Linked DNA regions of Homo sapiens: region 2 is linked to region 1. Evidence: promoter capture Hi-C in 16 types of primary human blood cells and fetal thymus (Javierre and others, 2016). All regions are on one chromosome and are shown on one strand. The core of a region is centred on a gene start or on the middle of the fragment in contact, and the rest is flanking DNA. Distances in the headings are between cores, read along the strand shown.

Region 1 (5,638 bases), core at 1,265-3,764:
TATTCTGAAAGCGAACATCTTCAACTGGTAAATTACATGGTATATTAAATTATTTTCAAAAAAGATATTTTTATTTATATTATTATATGTATTTTTTGAGATGGTGTCTCACTCCCGTCATGCAGGCTGGAGAGCAGTGGCACGATCTCAGCTCACTGCAACCTCCACCACCTGGGTTCAAGCAATTCTCCTTCCTCAGCCTTCCCAGTAGCTAGGATTACAGGCATGCATGACCAAGCCTGGCTAAATTTTTTTTGCTGATTTTTATATTTTTAGTAGAGATGGGGTTTCACCATATTGGCCAGGCTGGTCTCGAACTCCTGACCTTGTGATCCGCCCACCTTGGCCTCCCAAAGTGCTGGGATTACAGGCGTAAGCCACCACGCCCGGCTAATTTTTGTATTTTTAGTAGAGATGGGGTTTCGCCATGTTGGCCAGGCTGGTCTGGAACTCCTGATCTCAGGTGATCCTTCTGCCTAAGCCTCCCAAAGTGATGGGATTACAGAAGTGAGCCACCGTGTGGGCCTCAGCCATACAACTTTGACAAAGTTCTTTGTGTGTCTTCCCAGTCAATAGTGGTTTCTCCTTTATTCCTGTTCCCACAGACGCAATTCTGATTTTTTTCCCCACCTAAATTTTCTTTTTCTGTCGCCCAGGCTAGAGTGCAGTGACACAATCTCGACTTACTGCAGCCTCCACCTCCTGGGTGCAAGCGATTCTCCTGCCTCAGCCTCCTGAGTAGCTGGGATTACAGGCCTCACCACTGCACCCGGCTAATTTTATGTATTTTCAGTGGAGACAGGGTTTCACCATGTTGGTTGGGCTGGTCTTGAACTCCTGGCCTCAAGTGATCTGCCCGCCTCAGCCTCCCAAAGTGCTGGGATTACAGGCGTGAGCCATCCCGCCTGGCCATATATTATTGTTATTTTAGATAGGGTCTCGCTATGTTGCCCAAGCTGGACTCAAGCAATATTCCTGAATAGCTGGGACTACATGCAAGCACCACAGCACCCTGCCAAAATAGCTAAAAAATACACCTTCCTGTAACAGCTCTGATAAATATCTTTTACTTCGTTTATTTTTCTTTTTTGAGATGCAGTCTCCCAGGCTGGAGTGCAGCGGCATGCTCTCGGCTCACTGCAACCTCCGCTTCATTGCAACCTCTGCCTCTGAGGTTCAGGCGATCCTCCCACCTCAGCGTCCCAAGTAGCTGGGATTGCAAGCCTGCACCAACATACCCAGCTAATTTTTTTTGTATTAGTAGAGACGGGTTTTATCACCTTGGCCAAGCTGGTCTTGAACTCCTGACCTCAAGTGATCCGCCCGCCTTGGACTCCTAAAGTGTTGGGATTACAGGCGTGAGCCACCGCACCCGGCCTCTTTTACTTCGCTTAAATGTCCAATTTTAGTAGTAAAATCCCGGAAAATGTTTTTAGGAGTATGTTTAACTGAAAAGCTCATATTTTCTTTCATTTTTGGGCAATTCTTAAGGTAAGCAAACTAATGTTGCATGATAAAGCCCCCATCAAGTATCTCATACTTAAGCAAAGACCTCAAATCATTGTGGCTTTATTGCAGCTTTCCTTCAAAATATCATCTGTGACTGAGGAAATCCCTATCTTCCTATCAGACTAATGAAACCACAGGACAGCAATTAGACTTTTAAGTATTGGGGGTTTAGAGCTCTAGATATTCGATATGCAGACTACTCATGTTTGTTTGTTTTAATAAAGACTGGTCCAAAGGCTCATTTTCACACAAGCTACAGTTTTTCAGTTCCAGGACCAGGTAAAGATGGTCAGCTCCGTGATCCATAAAATCCAAGGGTGACGACTCAGGATTAGGACCATTTCTTGGTGACATTGAGATGGTCGAGCTGGTCCGCAATGAATCTATGCGGGGGGAACTTGGAAGTGGCGGCCGCCTTTATGGCCTCGAAGGCCTCCCTCCTGCGCACCGCGGCGTGGCCGCGCTCCTGCTCCCGGGTCATGTAGGGCATGCTCAGCCAGTAATGGTTCTCCGCCTCGATCTCCAGGCGGCGGATCATGTTCTGCTTGGCGCGCAACGACACGAACCGCGGCCGCCGGTGCTTCCCGATCCACTGACGGCCGGGAATGCGGCCGCGCCAGAGGAGCGCAGTCAGGAACATGGTGCCTGCGGAAGAGAGGGACGGGCTTTGCGGAGGCGAACTGGCGCGGCCGGACCTGGAGAGAGCAGCGGGCGCGCGCTCCAGCTCACGCCTACGGGAGTTCCCGCACCGCCTCCCCTCCAGAGAAGCGGGGAGCCCAGGTAAGGCCAGCAGGCGAAGAAGGAGCTCCCTAGAGAACCGAATTCGCACAGCTACTCACCTGCCGCGCTGCTCAAGACTCTGCGTCTCCGCGGCCGCCAGCAGACGCCGTGGCGTAAGCGCACCCGTCTCGCGGGGTCTCCTGGGGCCTCGGCGAGAGACTTCGGCTCTCGCGAGAGAGGACTGCGCCTGCGCAGAGCCGAGGACGCGTCCGGCGCCGAGATTCAAACTAGTGGCGGGAGGCTGTGAGCTGAGCGGTGGGGTCTGCGTACGCCTGGAGTCCTTCCCCGCTGTGCTCAGCATGGACCCTATCCGGAGCTTCTGCGGGAAGCTGCGGTCTCTGGCCAGCACGCTGGACTGCGAGACGGCCCGGCTGCAGCGAGCGCTGGACGGAGAGGAAAGCGGTGCGTGAGGCGGGCGGCCAGGGCACGGTGCGTGGGGTGCGCCGCGGGCGGAGGGGCGTGGCGAGTGGACGGTATGTCCCACGGGAACCGCCAGGCACTGACGGCGTGGACGGCTGCCACCGAGGCGCAGGGCGGGTGCTGCGCGTCTCACTGCTCGGCGTTTGGCGTTAGCGTAGCTCCCGGGCCTGTTTATGGTTTATTCCTAGGAACCCTTGTCGCGTGTCCGTTTTAGACCCATGTACAACCCCACGGCTCTCTTGAGATAATGAAAGTAGCACTATTACGTTATAAACAGAGACAGCAGCACTTAAGAATAAGAACCTAAATTAACAGATTGAGCTCATAATACATATACTAATTTATACGTGATATGCTTTCGTCACATACAATATGTGTGCTTGTCAGTAAAATACCATGTAAACCTAAACAGTTTCTCTTAGAATCAAGCTATTTAACGTTCTTTACACAATACTTTACACATATAGTGACTTTTTTCTCACTCACGTGGTCCACAGTTGCAGTAAACCTCTGTGTTTTTCCCGCTAAACCATGTTGCCAACACAAACACTAGTACTCAACAGTGCTGGGGTTTAAAAAAATATGTGTATATAAATAAAGCAAAATTCACCATTCCCCTTTTTATTAGAGATTTTTTAAATTGTTGAAAAAGTAGTTCAGATTTTGGAATTATTTCATAAATGTCATAATTGTAATGTGCTTTAAAATATTACACCCTGCAGACTACTTTTACTTTAATTATATAATGAATGATCTCCAGTCACTTGAAAATGTCTATTTCTGCCCGGCGCGGTGGCTCACGCCTGTAATCCTAGCACTTTGGGAGGCTGAGGCGGGCGGATCACAAGGTCAGGAGATCGAGACCATTCTGGCTAACACGGTGAAACCCCGTCTCTACTAAAAATACAAAAAATTAGCCGGGCGTGGTGGCGGGCGCCGGTAGTCCCAGCTACTCGGGAGGCTGAGGTAGGAGAATGGCGTGAACCCGGGAGGCGGAACTTGCAGTGAGCCGAGATCCGCCACTGCACTCCAGCCTCGGCGACAGAGCAAGAGTCCGTCTCAAAAAGAAAAAAAGATTTGGCCGTGCACGGTGGCACACGCCTGTAATCCCAGCATTTTGGGAGGCCGAGGTGGGTGGATCGCCCGAGGTCAGGAGTTCAAGACCAGCCTGGCCAACGTGGTGAAACCTCGTCTCTACTAAAAATACAAAACAATTAGCTGGGCATAGTAGTGGGCGCCTGTAATCCCAGCTACTCGGAGGCTGAGGTGGGAGAATCGCTTGAACCCTGGAAGCGGAGGTTGCAGTGACCCGAGATCGCGCCACTGCACTCCAGCCTGAGCGATCTTAGACTCCATCTAAGAAAGAAAAAACTATCTTCAGATGGTCATCAGGAATGTGAAAAGACATCAATTTCATTAGTCATCAAGGAAATGCAAATTTCATTAGTCATCAAGGAAATGCAAATTAAATCTCAATGTAGTACAGTTGCATACCCAGCAGGATAGCTAAAACGAAAAAGAGAAAATTACCAAGTGTTTGGAAAGATGTGGAACAAATGCGCTTTTTGTTGTTGTTGTTGTTGTTGTTGGAGCAGTACGCACTTTTTTTTTCTTTTTTTAAAATTATTATACTTTTAAGTTCTAGGGTACATGTGCACAACGTGCAGGTTTCTTACATATGTATACATGCACCATGTTGGTGTGCTGTACCCATTATCTCGTCATTTACATTAGGTATATCTCCTAATGCTATCCCTCCCCCCTTCCCTCACCCCATGACAGGCCCAAGTGTGTGATGTTCCCCTTCCTGTGTCCAAGTGTTCTCATTGTTCAATTCCCACCTATGAGTGAGAACATGCGGTGTTTGGTTTTTTGTCCTTGCAATAGTTTGCTGAGAATGATGGTTTCCAGATTCATCCATGTCCCTACATAGGACATGAACTTATCCTTTTTTATGGCTGCACATGGTGTATATGTGTCACATTTTCTTAATCCAGTCTATCATTGATGGACATTTGGGTTGGTTCCAAGTCTTTGCTATTGTGAATAGTGCGGCAATAAACATAAGTGTGCATGTGTCTTTATAGCAGCATGATTTATAATCCTTTGGGTATATACCCAGTGATGGGATGGCTGGGTCAAATGGTATTTTTAGTTCTAGATCCTTGAGGAATTGCCACACTGTCTTCCACAATGGTTGAACTAGTTTACAGTCCTACCAACAGTGTAAAAGTGTTCCTATTTCTCCACATCCTCTCCAGCACCTGTTTTTTCCTGACTTTTTAATGATTGCCATTCTAACTGGTGTGAGATGGTATCTCATTGTGGTTTTGATTTGCATTTCTCTGATGGCCAGTGATGATGAGCAGGAACAAATGCACTTCTTATGCACTGCTGGTGGGAGTGTGAACTGTAAAAATCATGTTGGAAAACTAGCAGTATTTACTGAAGTTGAGCATATGCATAACATATAATCCAGCACTTTTTCTGAGTCTCTTAACATACAGAAATATGAATACGTTGGTACCAAAGACATGTTCTAGGAAGTTCAAAGCAAGAGTATTCATAATAATTCCAAACTAGGCACAATCCAAAGTGTTTCAACAATAGAATAAATAAATATGGTATCACGCAGTGGAAATGCTACACAATAATGAACATGGATTAGATTACGAACGTGGAAGAATGTAACAGTTGAGTGAAAGAAGCCAGTCGCAAAAGAGTACATATTGTTTGAGTCCATTAAATCAAGTTCATAAGTGACAAAACTACTTCATGGCGTTAGAAATCAGGGTAAGGTGGCTGGGTGCAGTGGCTCACGCCTATAATCCCAACACTTTGAGAGGCCGAGGCGGGTGGATCACTTGAGGTCAGGAGTTCAAGACCAGCCTCACCAACATGGTGAAACCCCCATCTCTATTAAAAATAT
Region 2 (5,638 bases), core at 1,465-3,964, 630 kb after region 1:
GCAGATACGAGAGCATATGCAAGCTGCGCACCTAACACAGTAGCCACTAGCCGTGGCTGTTTAAAATTAAATGGAAGGCCAGGTGTGGTGGCTTATGCCTGTAATTCCAGCATTTTGAGTAGCTGAGGCAGGAGGATCACTTGAGGCCGGGAGTTGGAGACCAGCCTGAACAACATAGTGAGATCTGTCTCTATAAAAAAATTAATGTAAATTAAATTAAAAATAATTCTGATTAATGTTATACTTATGTGTGCTTTTCAAAATTAAATCAAATTAAAACTTCAGGCCGAGAATGGTGGCTCACACCTGTAATCCCAGCACTTTGGGAGGCCAAGGCAGGTGGATCACCTGAGGTCAGGAGTTTGAGATCAGCCTGGCCAACAGAGTGAAACCTCATCTCTATCAAAAATATAAAAATTAGCCAGGCGTGGTGGTGGATGCCTGTAATCCCAGCTACTCAGGAGGCTGAGGCAGGAGAATCGCTTTAACCCAGGAGGCGTAGGCTGCAGTGAGCCAAGATCACACCACTGCACTCCAGCCTGGGCAACAGAGTGAGACTCTGTCTAAATAATAATAATAATAATAATAATAATAATAATAATAATAATAATTCATTTCTTCAGTCACACTAGCCACATCCAGGTGCTCAACTGCCACACAGGAATAGTGGCTACTGTGTTGGAGAATGTGACATAGAACATTTCCTTTATTGCAGACAGTTCTGTTGGACAGTGCTGCAAGGATGGAGAGACTATTAAGATCACCTGACTACACCATTTAAAAAATTTTTTGAATGAACTATCTTTGTTTGTAAGCCCCAAAACATGGTCTGAAGACTCATTAGTGACCTGATCATACAGCTGACCTCTGAACAACATGAGTTTGAACTGCGTGCGGGTCACTTATAGGCAAGTGTTCAACTGCACGGGGCAGGAGCAGTTGGTGCCCAATCTGCTAATTGTTCAAAGGTAGAGTGTAGTTTTTAAAGACAAGTGAGGTAATTTCTTTTAAATCTCTAGGCTACTACAATACAGAATGCTGGGAAATGAATTAATGTTATGCTTACGTGTGCTTTTCAAAATTCCCCTTGTGACTAATGGGATGTCACTCTGCAAAAACATTGTTAGTTTCCCATTGATTCCACTGGTTTGAGTGTGTTTAATGCCGAGGAAAGTGAGAGTTCTTTCGGAAGATGGTAGGTTTTTGTCTTTTTGAGGTGGTTCATTTACTTTGAGAATCATCATTTTGTATTTTTAAAACCAAGTCTTATATGCAAAATTATTGAACTGTGAGAAGAAAAGGCAAATAAAATCTTTCTTTTTCATTGCAAATGTGTCTTTATCCAGTAATGACTTTGAAACGGGCATCTAAATACTTTCTCTGAAACCCCAGTGAAGAAAGTCAAGGGGTCATCCAGGGTGAAGATCTTAATTGGCCTGTTTCCTTCAGCAAGTCTACATGCTTGTTGATTTAGCTTCTCAGCTTCTAATTTTTGTAGATTTCTCAAATTCAGGATCTCCATCTCCCTTCCTCTTACTCATCCTCCTACCACCCCTAGAATCCTGAATCTAGACAAAGATAAAATCCATAAGTGACATTTTCTGTAAGTGAAGTTGGAAGTAATTTGGGAAAAAGCTACAGTAATTATAAGTGGTTATGAAACCCTAATTTTCTGACAAGAACCTACTATCTCTCTGGACATAGTTATACTCAAGCACATCAGTTTCCCTAGACAATATCATACACATCATAGCCTCTGTGACATATGGTTGTATAGGTTGTGGGTTGTGCACTGCACAAGGACACATTTAAGGAGGTGTTGCTCACATTATATACATCACAGATTTGGTACTTATAACAAAAATAAAAACAATTTTCCAGAAGATGGCAGTAAAGTTGTTGGAGGCTGAAAGAATGAGGGTCGTGGTCAACTCAGTGCACCACTGGCGGCTATATGAGCAAACAGCAAACTGTTCTCGTGAAAGCAGGATGTTGGTAAACTGACAAACTGTGCCTGCCGCCCAGTAGGAATGCTGAGGGCAGTCACAACCCAGGCACGAGTGTTTCTTGTGATTAGGCACAACTGAATCCTGTTAGCAATAATGTGAACCTGTGATCAATTAAGCAGCTGACCAATCTACCTCCTCCTCCCTGCTCTTTATACCCAATAAATATGAAGGGCTGAAGAAGCTCGAGGCTGCCTTTGCTCACTAGAAGCAGGGAGCTCTCTTCTTCTTCCCCTGGACCCTTCCTTTAAAACAGTTACTTTTGTCTTAAGTTTTCATTTCCACGTTCATCCCTTCTTTCAGTCTCATAAAGACGGTCTCAAGTAGTAACAGTAGTAACTGTCTCAAGTAGTAACAGTAGTAACTGTCTCAAGTAGTAACAGTAGTAACTGTCTCAAGTAGTAACAGTAGTAACTGTTGTAGCGATGGTCTCAAGTAGTAACTGTGGCAGTCTCCCACACAAAGTATCTTGTTCTTAAAAAAAATCAAGGGGCCAGGCCAGGTGGCTCACACCTGTAATCCCAGCACTTTGGGAGGCTGAGGTGGGCAGATCACGAGGTCAAGAGATCGAGACCATCCTGGCCAACCAACATGGTGAAACCCCATCTCTACTAAAAATAGAAAAATTAGCCGGGTGTGGTGACGCACGCCTGTAGTCCTAGCTACTTGGGAGGCTGAGGCAGGAGAATCGCTTGAACCCAGGAGGCAGAGGTTGCAGTGAGTTGAGATCGTACCACTGCACTCCAGCCTGGTGACAGAGCAAGACTCTGTCTCAAAAAAAAAAACCAAAAAACAATACATTATGACAATTTTCTGTAGAGGAGAGTACAATGTCTTGATGAAGAAGTACCTTTCTCTGATTTACACAAAGGTATGAAATGGACTACCATTGGCTCTAGGGCTGTATAAAATCAAATCCAGACTATTAGTGAAAGTGAACCAATGCAGTTTAATAAGTAAAGAAAAAAAAAGAATGATCAATAATATATATTGAGCCAGGCACAGTGGCTCACGCCTGTAATCCCAGCACTTTGGGAGGCCAAGGTGGGCTGATTTCTTTGAGCTGAGTTTGAGACCAGCCTGGGCAACATGGCAAAACCCTGCCTCTACTAAAAATACAAAAATTGGTGGCGGGGGGCAGGGTGTGCGGTGTGGTGGTGCATGCCTGTGGTCCCAGCTTCTCCAGGGATGAGGCTGGAGAATCGCTTGAACCCGAGAGGTAGAGGCTGCAATGAGCCAAGATCGTGCCACTGCACTCCAGCCTGGGTGACAGAGTAAGACCCTGTCTTAAAATAATAAGTATTGAAATTCTGGCTTCCAAAATACTTGTTCTTTGTTCATATATTATATTACATGTGCAATATAGTGTCTTCGTTCATTCTGGCCGCTATAACAGAATGCTGTAGACTGAGCGGAGCATGGTGGTATGTATGCATCTGTTGTCCTAGATACTTGGGAAGCTGAGGTAGGAGGACACTTGAGTCCAGGAGTTTCAGTCCAGCTTGAGTAACATAGCAAGACCCCTCTCTAAAAAACAAAAATGCTATAGACTGGGTGGCTTATAATAACAGACATTTATTTCTCACAGTTCTGGAGGCTGAGGGGTCCAAGATCAAGGCATTGGCAGTTTCAGTGTCTGGACAGGGCCCACTTCCAGGTTCATAGACAGCCATCTTCTCATGGTCTCCTCACATACTGAAAGGGATGAGGGGTTTCTCGGGCCACTCTCATAAGGGCACTAATCCTGGGCATGAGGGCTCTGCCCCATGACCTAACACAACCCAGAGGCCTTGCTTTCTGATAACATCACGGTGGGGGTAGGGATTCCAATGTATGAATTTGGGGAGACATAAACATTCAGTCTAATATGTGTAGTATAAATAAGATAGTGTAATACATGCTTCCCTAGGCCTCATGGAACCACAGGTACAAATGTGATTAATATATATGGGGAGGAATTCTTCAGTTTTAGGAACATCTTTCTGTCACCCCAAAAGTCTCCCACACACATACACACTGTCTTCCATCTTTGGATCCCCCGAAAAGTAATGTATCAAAAGTACTGTGATGTTAAGGAGGAAAGGGTTTTAGAGAAAAAATAAATTCCTGATTCACTTTGTGACATGTTTAAATTATTTTGTTCCTTGTTCAGGACTATGAGCTTTCTGGCTTGGGCAACTACAGCTGAAAAATGCAACACCCTTTTCTTGTGGAGCAGTTTTACCAAAGTAACGTTTCTCTTATGTTTTGTTCATTTCAGAAATTGTCATCTTCCTTTCCCCCTCTCTTCTTTTCTCTCTCCCTTCCTCCCTCCCTCCCTCCCTTTCTTTTTTCTTTCTTTTTTTTGCAGGGGTGGGAATAAGGTTTCACTCTGTTGCTCAGGCTAGAGTGAAGTGGCACAATCAAACCTCACTGCCATCTTGACCTGCTGGGCTCAAGCAATCCTCCTACCTCAGCCTCCCTAGTAGCTGTGACCACAGGCACATAGCACCATGTTTGGATAATTAAAAAAAAAATTTTTTTTTCATAGATATAGGATCTTGACATACTGCCCAGGCTGATCTCGAACTCCTGGGCTCAAGCAATCCTGCCTCAGCCTCCCAAAGTGCTGGGATTACAGGCGTGAGCCACCTTGCCCGACCTTCCTTTCTAAGCAAAATAAATATAGGCAAGGGATGGATGATCAGAAAGCATTTGTAAAGTGCAGTATTAATGTAAGCTATTACTTGTGATATTTTAAAGGATGTCAGAAGTGGACAGGAGGAGAAGGACCTATGACCAGTGTGTTTAGACAGGGGATAGGAACAGACATAAGCAGCGACGTGTGCACTGGTTTTATGAACTAGTTTGCTATGACCCTGCAATGCCTTTGCATGTTCCTGGAGACTATGCCTGAGTTTTCAAATTCATCTTTTGTAAAACACTGTTCAAGTTTAGGATAAATATATAATTCAAGACATTTTGACTAGAAAGGAAAGATCTGGTCTGAGATGGACCTGCTAAGTGGCCTGGAAGTCTTGGGGCTGTCACCTGTAGAATGGTGGGGCTGGAATCTGCTTTACATATGCCAGGGAGGTGCCAGGGAGGGCCAAGTGAGAGTATGTGTAAGGAAGAGCTGCTGCGTGATACTACAGAGGACACAGAATGATCCAACACTGGCCATGTGCCAAGCACATTTTAGAATGGATTCTATCAGTTAATCATTAACAATAACCCTTTAAGAGGGAACCTCTATTATGACCATTGTACTGCTGAAAAGGCTGAGTTTTGAGGAACTAACTTGTCTAAAATCATGCAACTAGCCAAGCACGGTGGCCCACATCTGTAATCCTAGCACTTTGGGAGGCCAAGATGGGCGGATTGCCTGAGCTCAGGAGTTCAAGACTAGTCTGGGCAACATATTGAAACCCTGTCTCTACTAAAATACAAAACATTAGCCAGGCATAGCAGTGTGCGCCTGTAGTCCCAGCTACTTGGGAGGCTGAGGCAGGAGAATTGCTTGAACCCGGGAGGTGGAGGTTGCAGTGAGGAGATCAAGCCATTGCACTCCAGCCTGGGCGACAGAGCAAGACTCCATCTCCAGAAAAAATAAATAAAAATAAAAATAAAATCATGCAAGTAGCAAAATATGA

Evidence for each region. The method cuts DNA at HindIII sites, captures the fragments that hold promoters and counts their contacts. A CHiCAGO score of 5 or more calls a contact.
Region 2: a contact is called between a fragment that was not itself captured here and the fragment with the promoter of SKA3 in region 1, in 1 of 17 cell types (monocytes). The highest score is 5.5, in monocytes.

The regions. Positions count from the first base shown.
Region 1 is chr13:21,173,428-21,179,065 of GRCh38, reverse strand. It overlaps SKA3 (spindle and kinetochore associated complex subunit 3), which reads left to right and starts at 2,514. Exons shown (of 9, transcript NM_145061.6): 1 at 2,514-2,691. The coding sequence starts at 2,589. It overlaps MRPL57 (mitochondrial ribosomal protein L57), which reads right to left and starts at 2,408. Exons shown (of 2, transcript NM_024026.5): 1 at 2,349-2,408; 2 at 1-2,154. The coding sequence starts at 2,149. The coding sequence ends at 1,841. RefSeq lists enhancers at 1,939-2,258, 2,274-2,996, 3,719-4,441. The HindIII fragment of the contact is 19,534 bases long and covers 1-5,638 here.
Region 2 is chr13:20,547,327-20,552,964 of GRCh38, reverse strand. LOC105370103 (a long non-coding RNA gene) reads left to right here. Exons shown (of 6, transcript XR_941725.3): 6 at 716-1,331. Among named protein-coding and RNA genes, the nearest start is that of IFT88, 17 kb to the left of the region's middle. The HindIII fragment of the contact is 9,139 bases long and covers 1-5,638 here.